Linked DNA regions of Homo sapiens: regions 1, 2, 4 and 5 are each linked to region 3. Evidence: promoter capture Hi-C in 16 types of primary human blood cells and fetal thymus (Javierre and others, 2016). All regions are on one chromosome and are shown on one strand. Each heading gives the region's core, a stretch centred on a gene start or on the middle of the fragment in contact. The rest is flanking DNA. Distances are from core to core; before and after follow the strand shown.

What was found. Contacts are between HindIII fragments. The CHiCAGO score rates a contact against its expected background, and 5 or more counts as called.
Region 1: a fragment that was not itself captured here is called in contact with the fragment with the promoter of ELP1 in region 3 in 2 of 17 cell types (total B cells and naive B cells); the score reaches 7.2 in total B cells.
Region 2: a contact is called between a fragment that was not itself captured here and the fragment with the promoter of ELP1 in region 3, in 1 of 17 cell types (naive CD8 T cells). The highest score is 6.4, in naive CD8 T cells.
Region 4: a contact is called between a fragment that was not itself captured here and the fragment with the promoter of ELP1 in region 3, in 2 of 17 cell types (naive B cells and total B cells). The highest score is 14.4, in naive B cells.
Region 5: a fragment that was not itself captured here is called in contact with the fragment with the promoter of ELP1 in region 3 in 2 of 17 cell types (non-activated CD4 T cells and monocytes); the score reaches 6.7 in non-activated CD4 T cells.

What each region holds. Positions count from the first base shown.
Region 1 is chr9:107,494,887-107,497,586 of GRCh38, forward strand. No RefSeq gene overlaps it. Among named protein-coding and RNA genes, the nearest start is that of KLF4, 6.5 kb to the left of the region's middle. The HindIII fragment of the contact is 2,924 bases long and covers 1-2,700 here.
Region 2 is chr9:107,302,617-107,305,355 of GRCh38, forward strand. The region is part of intron 3 of RAD23B (RAD23 nucleotide excision repair protein B); the gene reads left to right. Among named protein-coding and RNA genes, the nearest start is that of RAD23B, 21 kb to the left of the region's middle. The HindIII fragment of the contact is 3,049 bases long and covers 1-2,739 here.
Region 3 is chr9:108,932,677-108,935,376 of GRCh38, forward strand. It overlaps ELP1 (elongator acetyltransferase complex subunit 1), which reads right to left and starts at 1,448. Exons shown (of 37, transcript NM_003640.5): 1 at 1,188-1,448. ABITRAM (actin binding transcription modulator) reads left to right here and starts at 1,724. Exons shown (of 6, transcript NM_017832.4): 1 at 1,724-1,889. The coding sequence starts at 1,811. RefSeq lists an enhancer at 691-920 and a silencer at 1,671-1,950. The HindIII fragment of the contact is 11,674 bases long and covers 1-2,700 here.
Region 4 is chr9:107,474,439-107,477,138 of GRCh38, forward strand. It overlaps the pseudogene RNU6-492P. Among named protein-coding and RNA genes, the nearest start is that of LINC01509, 9.2 kb to the left of the region's middle. The HindIII fragment of the contact is 665 bases long and covers 1,058-1,722 here.
Region 5 is chr9:107,341,246-107,343,956 of GRCh38, forward strand. It overlaps LOC124902241 (a long non-coding RNA gene), which reads left to right. Exons shown (of 2, transcript XR_007061717.1): 2 at 1,638-1,980. Among named protein-coding and RNA genes, the nearest start is that of RAD23B, 59 kb to the left of the region's middle. RefSeq lists an enhancer at 1-177. The HindIII fragment of the contact is 4,219 bases long and covers 1-2,711 here.

The DNA.
Region 1 (2,700 bases), core at 113-2,612, 1.4 Mb before region 3:
CTGTAACCTCCACTGCCCGGGCTCAAGCGATCCTCCCACCTTAGCCTCCCGAGTAGCGAGTATCTTGTGGCACTGATTCTTTTTTTTTTTTTTTTATTTTGATAGAGATTTCGTCATGTTGGCCAGGCTGGTCTCAAACTCCTGTGTTTAAGCCATCCACCCACCTCGACCTCTCAAAGTGCTGGGATTACACACGTAAGCCACTGTGCCCAGCCTCATTTACAGATTTAATTATGTCTGTACACTCCAAATAGTCCTCTTGTCTCCTCCCTCAGAGCCCCACTGGCATTCTCCAGCTAGATCTAATCCATTTTGCTAACAGACCACCACAGTTCTGTCTCTACTCACCTCCCCACCAGCCAGTCTTTCAACAGCTCCACTTTGCCTAGAGGAATAAAACCAAACTGTTTGGCTTGATGTACCCAACACTTACTACTCTGGCCCTAGACAAACTTTCCAGAATCTTCTCTAGAGACTGACCTCACCCTCTCTAAACTCTTAACTGGATGTTCTCTCAAATCCCTGAATACAGGATGTGTATTTTCATCAGCTGTTTTTCCTGTCTGAAATGCCCTTTCTCCCCTCAGGGCCCTCATCGTACCCAAACTCCAAAAAGTCCCTCTTAATTGTTCCTTGGTCTATGAGTTCCCTTTTAAGCCAGTCCTTTTTTCTCTGAGCTCTAACAAAGCTGTGTAATGACTGCTAGGATGTTTACCCAGTGGACTTGCATGATCTGGTTGTTTGTAGCTCCTGTTCCCCTATGGCATCTTCAGGACAAATGCCCAATGACCATTAATTGTAGAATGAATGAAGAGAGCAAAACTGACTTGGTAAACTATTAATGGGGTAGAGGCAGGGAGGGAGTCAGGGGACCTGGTCCTTGTCAATAGCATTTCTCTCTAGTTGAGAGGGTCATTGGTTTGGTACTTCATTTTCCATCCCTTCTCTTTCTTCACCACTTCATCTCTTTCTTTGAAAAGTTCTATGAAGGAAAACTTTTCAAAGAAAGTTATGAAGGAAATAAAATCCTTCATAACTCTGTACTCTCAAAAACAGTTGGACAAAGTAATAGAACAGTGCTGGCCAAGGCATTGTAATAAAACAAACTTGAAAACACAAACAAAAATAACCAAAATCCAAACCAAAACCAAATGGAGAAAGAGTCCACTCTTTTCTGCAGCCAAATTCATTGCCTTTCAAAACCCAAACCTTAAGGGTTGAAGTTTTTAGAGCAGAAAATGAATCACAGACATTTAAAAATCAATTCTCAGAAATTTCATTAGAATCTTTTTCGTGAACCCTTAGGTTTGATCACTTAAGTTACATTCTTAGCTCAAAAAACTTAGGCCCAATACATCCTTTAAGCTATTTAAAAATAAAATCTAAAATTAATGAAATTATTTTCAAGACTTTTGAAATATTCTGACTGCAATATATTAAATTCAGCTTTTCAGTGTCCTCAACTTGTTCTGAGATATTAAAAAGGATACAAAAAAAATCCCTCTTTTTAGGTTGCTGATTTTTTTTACTTTATTTATTTATGTATTTATTTATTTTTTAATAAATAAATGAGTCACCACACCCGGCCAGGTTGCTTATTTTTAAATGTCTGTTTAAGCAGAGAGAAATATTTTTTAATGGCTCACACCTGTAATCTCAACACTTTGGGAGACCGAGGTGGGTGAATCACAAGGTCAGGAGTTCAAGACCAGACTGGCCAACATATAGCGAAACCCCATCTCTACTAAAAAATACAAAAATTAGCTGGGCGTGGTGGCGCATGCCTGTAGTCCCAGTTACTTGGGAAGCTGAGTCAAGAGAACAGCTTGAACCCAGGAGACGGAGGTTGCAGTGAGCCAAGATCGCACCACTGCACTCCAGCCTGGGCAACAGAGCAAGACTCCGCCTCAAAAATAAAAAAAGAAATATTTTGTAAGAGTGAGGTACATCTCAGTAGTATTTCCCTTAACAAAACATTTTGTAAGAGTGAGGGGCATCTCAGTAATATTTTCCTTAATAAAAGAAATTGCAGGCTAGCATTTACCATCTTCGTAGAGCATGACTCCAATACTATATGCATTTGAAACACATTTAAAAGTAAATGAACTAGCAAATTTTAAAAGTATTTAAATTTTAATGAAAGAATAAAAGTACTTAAATGAACCAGCAAAGAAGTCAGTGGGCAGAGAAAAACCTGTTGCTGGAATTTTCTTCTTCACTTGGTTCACCAAGTTTTGCCTGCTTCCCCTGGGGGAGAATTATCTCTGAAAAGAGAACCAAGAGTCTACTTCCTTTATTTAAAAGCCTCAGTGCCTCAGATTCTTAGACTAAGACAACGTCGTTCTTCTGAGGAAAACAAAGTCCCTAGGTTTAGATTGGATTGGAGGTAACATTTTTGTTTTATGGAAAATGTAGGAATGTTGAAGGTACAAAAATGAATGCTTCACACCCTGAGAAATGCAAACAAGAAAAAAACAATTCTGTGTTTAATTCTCTTTCAGTTTGTGGGCTGGACAAGAGGGGAGCTTATTTTTGCCAATTTGAAATTATGTACTTTGAGCCAGGGAAATGATTTAAAAAAAAATTAAGAATGCATTTTATTACCCTGTAGTTGACTTTTTTTTCACAAACATTGTGTTTGTTAATCAATTTTAATGTCCTGGCTAGTGGGAAGGGGGCTAGCGAGTGCCAATGTGGAGG
Region 2 (2,739 bases), core at 194-2,693, 1.6 Mb before region 3:
GATGGAATGATTTTTATGAGGAAGTTTTTTTTGTTTTTGTTTTGTTTTTTTTTTTTTGAGACGGAGTCTCGCTCTGTTGCCCAGGCTGGAGCGCAGTGACGCTGTCTTGGCTCACTACAAGCTCTGTCTCCCGGGTTCATGCCATTCTCCTGCCTCAGCCTCCCTAGTAGCTGGGACTACAGGCGCATGCCACCACGCCCGGCTAATTTTTTTGTATTTTTAGTAGAGACAGGGTTTCACCGTGTTAGCCAGGATGGTCTCGATTTCCTGACCTCGTGATCCGCCCGCCTCGGCCTCCCAAAGTGCTGGGATTACAGGCGTGAGCCACCGCGCCCAGCCTGGAAGTTTTAAACAGATACTTTTTTGTGATTTAGTAGGCTGGAATGTATTTGGAACAATTTATAAAATTAAATTTTTTTTAAAGCAGAGAATGAACATGGATTTTTTTAAGAGACTATTTATATACTTGTTTATTTAAAGATATATAATGCAGTGTAGAATTAAGAGACAAATGGAGAAGTGGTACTCATGACATTCATTTTTAGGATTGGATTGTCATAATCTGAGAAAGAACAGTGTTACTTGTAGCACTGAAAATGAGTTTAAATCACTAATTGAAACCACTTCATCAAAGGCCAAAAGTGGATTAAATGTGGGTTTTTTCTCAAAGTCACAAAATAGTTAATAGTAATAGAAAATAGAGTCGAAGAAATAAATTCTAATTACCACATGCTTTTGTACTGGGAGCAAGCAGCTAAATAGTTTACAAGTGTTGAACATTTTTTAATTCATTAAGAACCATGTTGATTTTGCTATACTTAAGAACTTAAGTCATTATATGTTAAGTTTAAAAACAAGCAGAATCGTGAGGAAACCTTGTATCATCTAGGTTTTTTTATTCAACTGTGGTAAAATATAACAAACTTCCAGTTTAATCATTTTAAGTGTACAGTTCAATAACATTATAGTTACATTGTTTTGCAGCTATCACCATCATATAAGTGGAATCCTATGGTATTTGTCTTTTTGTGACTGGCTTATTTCACTTAGCATAATGTCATTGAGGTTCATCTGTCTATGTTATAGCTTGTGCCAGAATTTGCTGAACTTTTAAGACTGAATACTATCCTATTTTCCTATCTAGTTTTAGCATACATAGTACATAATGGGAAATGTGATAGCCACACATTTAAATATGTTTTGTTACTGGTCTTAGTTTCTTTTAATATTACAGTGATCCTGACTGTTTAGAACACAAGAATTAAGCAGAAAAAGTCTCAATAGGTGCGTGTGTTTGAGGAATAGATACTTGAAGCCTATCATTATATTGCATACAGTCCTTTTGTTTTTCCTTAAAGTCTTTTATTCCTAATATTACATAGGATTCTAATGATATTTATGATTGTTTTATTTGAAGTTAATAGAGGACAACTATGAAAAGGGAGGGAATGCTGCTACAGTAAGGCATTATGGAAGCACTGAGAAATGACCTTATTAATACAAAGAAGGGAAAGGAAAAAGCTATTAAGATCAAAAGCAAGAATAAAAACTAAAAAGCAGAGAAGGGCTTGGTACTGTTTAGAATAAAGTATAAGTAGCTGTTCTTGGCAGTAGGAACCTTGAAGGGAAGTTACATTGCAATATTATTTTGATAACAATTAAGGAAAATATTAAATGAGTATACCACTTTTAAAAATACATTTTTATCTAGATTGGTTATTATAAAGTTTTGGTGCTTAAGACTCTAAATTTTCACCTTTGTGAAGCTCCAGTTTATCCAGAATAACTGAAGATCCAGAATGATCTCAGGATTTCAGCTCATTTTAGTTTTAGAACAGTAATAATCTGCAGAATATTATATTGGCTGTTAAGAAAGTTAAGCTAAATAGGAAAAGAAGGGAGTAATGCTACTAGTATTTTTTAAAAACCTATCACCTTTCACTAACCTTTTTCCTAGTGTCTTCTTTATTAGTTCAAATCAAAAAGACAAGGCAGCTCATTGGTTTTAGAGTTTGTTTATGCCTGTGGCAAATTATGTTGAATTTAAGCCTTGTCTTCCACTAAAACAGCTACCTTTTGTCCTTGGGAAAGTTATGAACTAAACAGGTAGCGAGCATTGAGAGGCCTTAGGAGAAGACTAAAAATCATGTATGATTTTTACACATGTACAGTTGACCCTTGAACACCACTGAGCTTAGGAGTGCTGGCCTCTCCCCTACAGTCAGAAATCTGCATATACCTTTTGACTTGCCCAAAACTTACCTACTAATAGCCTACTCTTGACCAGAAGCCTTACTGATAACGTAAACAGTGGATTAATACATGTTTTATATGTTACATGTATGATATACTGTATTAAAGTAAGCTAGAGAAACTATTAAGAAAATCATGGCCAGGTGTGGTGGCTGATGCCTGTAATCCCATCGCCTTGGGAGGCCAAGGTGGGCGGATCGCTTGAGCTCAGGTGTTGGAGACCTGTCTGGGTAACATGGCGAAACCTTGTCTCTACAAAAAAAAAAAATACAAAAATTTAGCAGGGAGTGGTAGTGTGAGCCCGTAGTCCCAGCTACCTGGTGTTGGGGGCGGGGGCAGTGGCTGAGGCAGGAGCCTTGGGAGGTTGAGGCTGCAGTGAGCTGTGATCATACCACTGCACTCCAGTCTGGGCGATAGAGTGAGAACCTCTCTCAAAAAGAAACAAAAGAAAATCACGAGAGAGAATATTTTTAGTGTTCATTAAGT
Region 3 (2,700 bases), core at 198-2,697:
AAAACTAGTTTCTCTGAAATTTCACACCCATCAGCCTTATTCCCTTATCTTCTCGGAGGAAGACTTCCCTCCACTTCTTTCCAGGCTAGGAAAGGAATATCCTCCATATTGCCACAGGACCTAGGCCTATTAGTACTCTTTCTTGGACATCTGCAACCTCCAACCTTCCTGCCTCCACTGATTCAAACTCTTCGCAGTTCTTAAATGTGCTAAAGATCCCTCCACACCAAAGGTCAATCGTGGATTCTCTCTTAATTTCCTGATAACTGCTTCATTTTCTTCCCTTGCTCCTTCGACTATCCACCTCTTGGCTAGACATCACATGCATGATTACATATACCAGGTAGATCACCAATACGCTGATTAGGCCTAAATGCCTAGCCCTGACTGAATTAGCCCAAACTTACCACTAAACCCACATTTTCAACCTCCTGATAGAATCACAAGCATGTCTCACATGCACATCAAATGCGACCTGGAAAGCAAAGAACTTGCTATTCTTCCCCCAAATGACAGTTCCCACTATTTGGGGACAGACCATTTCTACTCTATGTCCCCAAGCTGAAAAACTGTCTTTGCTGCCTTTTTGCTTACTCTTCATACGGATCTATTCATTGATTAGTTCCGTGGCTGTCAATATACAGTTGAATTCTTTACGATCCGGTTTGTGGCCTACATCCAACACCGACTGAGCACTTGCTAAGTACTGGGATCTGAAGATTACTCAGCCACTGTCTCCACGGAGATCATCGTTAACGGGAGAGAAAGCCACGTAAAACACCACGTTAGATGGAGAAGCACAGAGGACACCACCTCCACGAAAAAGTCTCACACGCGAGAAAGGACCCGCACCACAGCACCCGAGCCTCTATTAACCGCCGCCTTCCATCGTGAATTAATACTCTCGCTTTCAGCGTTATTATCAACCCCCTGCAAGCAATCAAGAGGCTGGGTTAAGTCCGGCTGGAGGGGCAGCAGGCATCCCTGGGCTGTCGCGCCTCCCAGCGCCCCCGATGGAGCAGGTGGCAAGGCTGCAAAAAGAATTTAAGGCTCTAGGAAAGAGGTGGTGCAGCCCGCACTCCAGTCCCCGGCCCGCAGCAGGCAGAGGAGGCTCCGGGTCTCCTTCACCCGGACACCGCCGGCGGAGAGGTCCACTCCCGTGCCCCTACCCTGGATGGATCGCTTACCTGAGGACCCCCAAACAGAGGTGCGTCCGGCCTCGCCTCCCCAGCCACGCGCAGCCGGCTACCCAGAGTCAGCTCCCACAGTCCGCACCCAGAGTCGGCTCCGAATTGCGCACGCGTCTCTGTCCGCGGCTCCCGCTCTCTCTCCGACGGCACTAGGCCTCCAAGGATGGAGGCGCCCTCCAGGGGAAAACGCTGAAGCGCTGCAAAGAAGCCAGCGACTCAATGGGTGCGTCAACTAGGCAGCCGCAGCACTGGGAGTGCGGCGCGGGAGTGACGTCACCAGGCGGAGGGGGCGAGGCCGGGCCCGCTTCTGGTCACTTACGGCGGCCGGCCTTCTTTGTAGGCCTGGCACCGTAGAGGTAGAGGAGCTACATTGGCCGCGTCCCCTGTCCCTCTGCCCTCTTGCCCATCTGCCCAAACTTTTGTATTTGATCTCTGTTTTGATGTCGAACCCCAAAGCACTGTAATTGGGGGGGGCGGGGGGGGGGGTGGAACCTGCGGACCTGAGAGCAGCGCGCGTGCGCACGACACGCGCTGTGCGCCGGAAGAGCACGCCCAGTCCGGGCTGCGCGGAGGAAGCGCTGGGGTCCCGGAGGGCGGGGGTGGCGGCGCCGGAGGTCGCCATGGCTACCGAGCCCGAAGCCGCGGAGCCGGTGGTGCCTTCGCTCGTGGATCGATACTTCACTCGCTGGTACAAACCGGGTAAGTGCGGAGTGATGTTGATCCCTCCTTGGCCGCACTGGCCTAATGCTGTGTAGACTATGTTGACAGATCATAAGCCACGCGCGCTCTCCCTGGCTCTCCGTCCCCACGTCAGAAGGCACTGGACTTCTGTGTTCCGTCTAGCCCCAGGGAATGGCATTTGCAAAGACCTGGTGGCCTGAAATACTTCAGGGCGCATTCTGGGGCCGGCGATTGCAGTGCGAGCTCTAGGGTGTTGCTCGCAGTAAGATGAGTACTCTAAACGGAGGCCCCAAAGGTAGGCGGAGGGCTAGGTTGCAACAGTCCTTAAGTGCCTGGAGGGATTGAGGGGCTCACTCTCACAGGGAGTAGCGATACATAAAATTATTTAAATGATCAGATCGAAACTAAGGTAGAGGCAGTAGGGATGGCGAGAAGAGGGTGGGTTAGATTAGAGACATTTAGAAAGAAGAAGAATCTATACATTTACCTTAAGAGACGCCATCTGCCACTTAGAAGTAGGTATTCTTTTTGTACTGTTTTGTGTAAGCAGAACCAGTGGTGGGAGCATCGTTGGGGACTCTCCTTTCTTCCTTTCATTCAGTGATAATGGTTATACTCAGTTTAAAAAATATATATTGTAGCATATTTTCTGTTGGCCAAACATAGGGTGACCAACCTGTCCTAGTTCACCCATGACTGAGGGGTTTCCCAGAATGTCGGACTTGCACCAACATCAGGACAGTCCTGGAAACCACCAACAAAAAATATATATCATAAAGAACGGGATGCTAATTGCATTTTCCTAGCAAAAATACTACGTGTACTCATT
Region 4 (2,700 bases), core at 140-2,639, 1.5 Mb before region 3:
CTATGTTCTCTCTAGAGGGAACACAGTGACCAGTGAGTAGTCCTGTCCTAGCTGGCCGGTAACAGAGCACTATACAGAAGGATGATAAAGCACAGTAAAATACTTTTTTGGATGTTAGAGCACAACATTACATTGAATTTAGAACTTTCCAGGGCCAGGCACTGTGGCTCATGCCTGTAATCCTAGCACTTTGAGAGGTCGAGGCCCTTAAGCCCAGGAGTTAGAGACCAGCCTGGGCAACATAGGGATACCCTTGTCTCTACAAAATAATTTTTTAAAAAAATTAGCCAGGTATGGTGGTGCATGTCTGTGGTCTCAGCTACTTGGGGGGCTGAGAGGGAGAATCTCTTGAGCCCAGGCGGTTGAGGCTGCAGTGTGCTGTGATTGCACCACTCAGCCTGGGTGACAGGGTGAGACCTCATCCCCCATCTCAAAAAAAGGAAAAAAAACAAAAAAACAGAACTTTCCTCTGAAAGCCATCTTTTCTGCATGGTGTTTTTTGTTTTGTTGTTGTTTCTTTGTTTGTTTGTTTAGAAACTGATGTTTATTTTCCATCAACCTTATTTCCATGTTGCTTAAGAGCCTGTGCAAGAACAGAAAAATATGGAACACTTCACGAATTTGCATGTCATCCTTGCGCAGGGGCCATGCTAATCTCTGTATTTTTCCAATTTTAGGATATGTGCTGCCGAGGTGAGCATGGTGTTTTTTGTTTGGTTGGTTGGTTGGTTTTGTTTTGTTTTTGAGACAGTCTCACTCTGTCACCCAGGCTGGAGTGCAGTGGCATGATCTCAGCTCACTGCAACCTCTGCCTCCCAGGTTCAAGCAATTATCTTGCCTCAGCCTCCTAAGTAGCTGGGATTACTGGTGCACGACACCATGCCCGGCTAATTTTTGTATTTTCAATAGAGATAGGGCTTCGCCATGTTGGCCACGCCGGTCTGGAACTCCTGATCTGAAGTGATCCACCCACCTTGGCCTCCCAAAGTGTTGGGCTTACAGGCATGAGCCACCACACCCAGCCAGCAAGATGTTTTTGATCATCTTGATTCCTCTAAGCTTCCCTTGGGCTGTTAGGATGAAGCCATGGATGATTGGCCTGTTAAGTAAATCAGATCTAGGTGCTGGTTCCTCAGATGTCAACTTGATGTGACCTTGGGCAAGGTCACAAGTCCTTTATCTGGGTCTTTTCCTTGAGTTAAATGGTCTTGAAGATGCTTTCCTTTTCAAACGTCTTACGTAATTTTATTTTATTTTTGAGACAGGGTCTTGCTCTGTCACCCAGGTTGGAGTGCAGTAAAACAATCATAGCTCACTGCAGCCTCAGCCTCCTGGGCTCAAGGGATCTTCCCACCTCAGCCTCTTGAGGAGCCAGAACCACAGGAACATGCCACCACTCCTGGCTAATTTTGTTATTTTTTTATTTTATTTTTTATTTTTTGGAGAGACAGAGTCTCCCTATATTGACCAGGATGGTTTTGAACTCCTGGTTTCAAGTGATCCTCCCACCTCTGCCTCCCAAAGTATTGGCATTATAGTTGTGAGCTACCTACGTAATTTTACAGCTTCAGTCCTTGCAATGTTACCCATTCCTAGGTGAGGCGGTAACAGTGCCTCAAAGGCAGGGCAATGGTCAATTCCGCGCACTGTCAGAGTGAGTTTATTTAGATGTATTCAGAGGTCAGAAAACTACTGTCATCCAGGCAAACTAGAAGAGTCTCAAGCTTGAATTGGAGCAAACCAAATGGGAGGGTTTCACAGCACCCAAAGCTAAACCTTCCTGTTTGGGCAGACTGGCCCACTCAATATCCTAGAGTAGAAAGTACCCTCTTTTAGCTGGTATGGTGGCTCACGCCTATAATCGCAGCACTTTGGGAGGCCGAGGCGGGTGGATCATGAGGTCAGGAAAGTACCCTCTTTTAGCTTTTATTTTATTTTATTATTATTTTTTTGAGATGGAGTCTCGCTCTGTTGCCCAGGCTGCAGTGCAGTGGCACGATCTTGGCTCACTGCAACCTCCGCCTCCCGGTTTCAAGCGAGTCTCCTGACTCAGCCTCCTGAGTAGCTGGGATTACAGGTGCCCACCACCACGCCCAGGTGATTTTTGTATTTTTAGTAGAGATGGGGTTTCACCATGTTGGTCAGCCTGGTCTTGAACTCCTGACCTCAAGTGATTCACCTGCCTCGGCCTCCCAAAGTGCTGGGATTACAGGCGTGAGCCACCGTGCCTGGCCTAAGCTTTTAAAGTGCAATTTTTTTCTTTTTTTTTTTAGCCTTCATTATTTGTCATATGTCCATGGTACACATACCTTTTTTCTTGAAAGGAGGCCCAATGGGTCATCCAAAAAAAGGATAAAATATCTCCTTTCCCTGCTGGGTGCAGTGGCTCATGCCTGTAATCCCAGCACTTTGGGAGGCTGAGGCAGGTGGATCACGAGGTCAGGAAATCGAGACCATCCAGGCTAACACGGTGAAACCCCGTCTCTACTAAAAATACAAAAAAAATTAGCCAGGCATGGTGGCAGGTGCCTGTAGTCCCAGATACTTGGGAGGCTGAGGCAGGAGAATGGCGTGAACCGGGGAGGTGGAACTTGCAGTGAGCTGAGATGGCACCACTGCACTCCAGCCTGGGCAACTGAGCAAGACTCTGTCTCAAAAAAAAAAAAATCTCCTTTCCCCAAATTTTGGCATCCTGGAGGA
Region 5 (2,711 bases), core at 97-2,596, 1.6 Mb before region 3:
AGGGAGGAAGTAAAACAAAAAGTCCAAGTGAGTGATGGAAAAAGCCAGGACCTGACATGCAGCAGGCTGAACACCTGGAGGGCAAGTGCTGTCTGCCATGCGCCGGCACGCCCCCTTGTGGTGAGGGAGAGCCGTGTAGTTTCAGGGGAGGAGCACAAAGTGGGAAAGACCCAGCATCCGTGGGTCGCTGAAAAGCTGTGGGAAATCGGGTCGCTGGAGGAAGGGAAGACGCTGGTCTAGAGACCCAGCTCATACTTGCCTCTATTGCCGAAACTACAGGGGAAAGAGGAAGAGAACTAAACCCCTATAACTTCAGGTACCAAGAGCTCTATCTGCATTGACTCAGGCCATTCTAAGAAGTGTCAGGCCCGGGCCTGGTGGCTCACGCCTGTAATCCCAGCACTTTGAGAGGCCGAGGTGGGCGGATCACCTGAGGTCAGGAGTTTGAGACCAGCCTGACCAACATGGAGAAAACCCGTCTCTACTAAAAATACAAAATTAGCTGGGTATGGTGGCTCGTGCCTGTAATCCCAGCTACTCGGGAGACTGAGGTAGGAGAATCACTTGAACCCTGGAGGCGGAAGTTGCGGTGAGCCGAGGTCACGCCATTGCACTCCAGCCTGGGCAACACACACACACACACACACACACACACACACACACACACAAATGCCATGCAGAGGAGGAAACTGAGGTTTAGAGAGGGTGAGCTATGTGCCCAGATTCTCATAACTAGAACATAGCCCAGGGAGGTTGGGGACTCACTTGGCTCCAGGCCTTCTCTGAGCCCATTTAGACCAATTTTTTTTTTTTTGTCTATACAAATATTAGGGTTGGGGGGACAGTGGGCTTTTCTTCAGATATCTGAGATAGCTTGAACTTTTACCCTTCTAAGCCATGGCTGGAGGAAGAGGCACAGGGAAAACTGATAGGATCTGGAGTCAGATGAGTGGGTTTTTTCTTTTTCAAGTTTATTTTGCCGTAAATGCAGCGGAGTAGGGATAGGGAAGTCTGTCCCTTTAGAATAATCAATCCTTCAAAATAATAATCACCTTCAAAAGCCATCCAAACAAAGACAAGTGCTCTGTGAGGCATCCATAGGTCATGGCAGGATCCCCTATCTGGCCTGTGATACCACCTGAAGCTCCCCGTCTCCTCTGTCTAGCCCTGAGCCAGTCCAGGTGCTATCTTCCAGCTGGAGCAATGGCCATTCTTAAGCCAGAGGTCCCTGCAGCCCCTGGGCAGGGGAGGTGTCTGGGGAAAAAGTGAACCAAGAATCTTTCCAAAAGGCTATTCTTTCTTGTGGCCTGGAATGCCTTTCGGCCTCTTGTATCCCTTTCTATGGGACTTTACAAAGCTCGTAATCTCAAGCTACACAATGCAACTTTGAGCAATGATGGATTTGCAATAACCCCAGAAAAGCTGGCTTAGGCCTCATAGATTTCTCAGTTAGCTTGGAACTCACACACATACAAATGGCTATTAGCCTGTTTCAGGGCCCAGGGAAAGATGGCTGGCCTCCAGACCTTTCCATATATCCCTCTAGGGTCTCTCTGGATACTTCTTCCCCTTCTATTCCCATTCAGCCTTCTAGACTCAGCCCTTATTCCTCATCCCAGATATTCCTTCTTCCCCAGGCTTTGCCACTGGGTGCCACTGGATCAGGGGCCTCCCATGACCCTCTCACTGGACCAAGGGACTCTCATGAACACCTTCACCACCTGACACTGGACCGGGGGTCTCCTGTGACATCCCTCACGCCCCCACTGGATCAGGAGTCTCCCATGGACTCTGCTGTCAATACTTGCCCTCGACGCAAAGCATTGCCTCTGTCTGATTTTTTTCTTTTTTTTTTTCCATCATGACAGTGTGAACTCCTGGAGGGCAGGCCTGTATGTTTTTCTTCTGGATGTCCTTACTACCTGGCACCTAGTAGGTGCTCAATACATTTTGGTTGAATAAATGAATCAGTGACAAGGAGTTTCAAGCCTCAGATTAATAATCACCTCCATAAAGCCTTCCCTGGTGCTTCCCTACCACAATGAAAAAAAAAATTACAAGTGAATGGCTTTTATTTTCAAAACGTTTGTTTTTCTTTTCTTTTTTTCTTTCTTTCTTTCTTTTTTTTTTTTTTTGAGAGGGTGTTTCGCTTTTGTTTCCCAGGCTGGAGTGCAATGGCGTGATCTCAGCTCACCACAGCCTCCGCCTCCCAGGTTCAAGTGATTCTCCTGCCTCTGCCTTCCTGAGTAGCTGGGATTACAGGCATGTGCCACCACGCCCTGCTAATTTTGTATTTTTAGTAGAGATGGGGTTTCTCCATGTTGGTCAGGCTGGTCTCAAACTCTCGACCTCAGGTGATCCTCCCACCTCGGCCTCCCAAAGTGCTGGGATTATAGGTGTGAGCCACCGTGCCCAGCTTTTTTTTTTCCTTAACCAATAAATTCATGTCATATGTTTTCAAAATTTCTACAGCAGAGTGATATGGATTCTGGCCATGGCTCTGATATTGTTGTTGTATGTCTGTAAGCCCAGTTTTCTCATCTAGAAAATGGAGATGTTTATAATCATCCTTCAATAATCTGATGAGCAAGACTTTACCAGGTATGACAGCAACTGTTATCTGGCACACTAGTCACTGCTTAATGCAAGTATGTCCATGTATTTAGCCCGCCATGTTGTCATTGCTCATTTACCACGTTTTCCCTTATAGT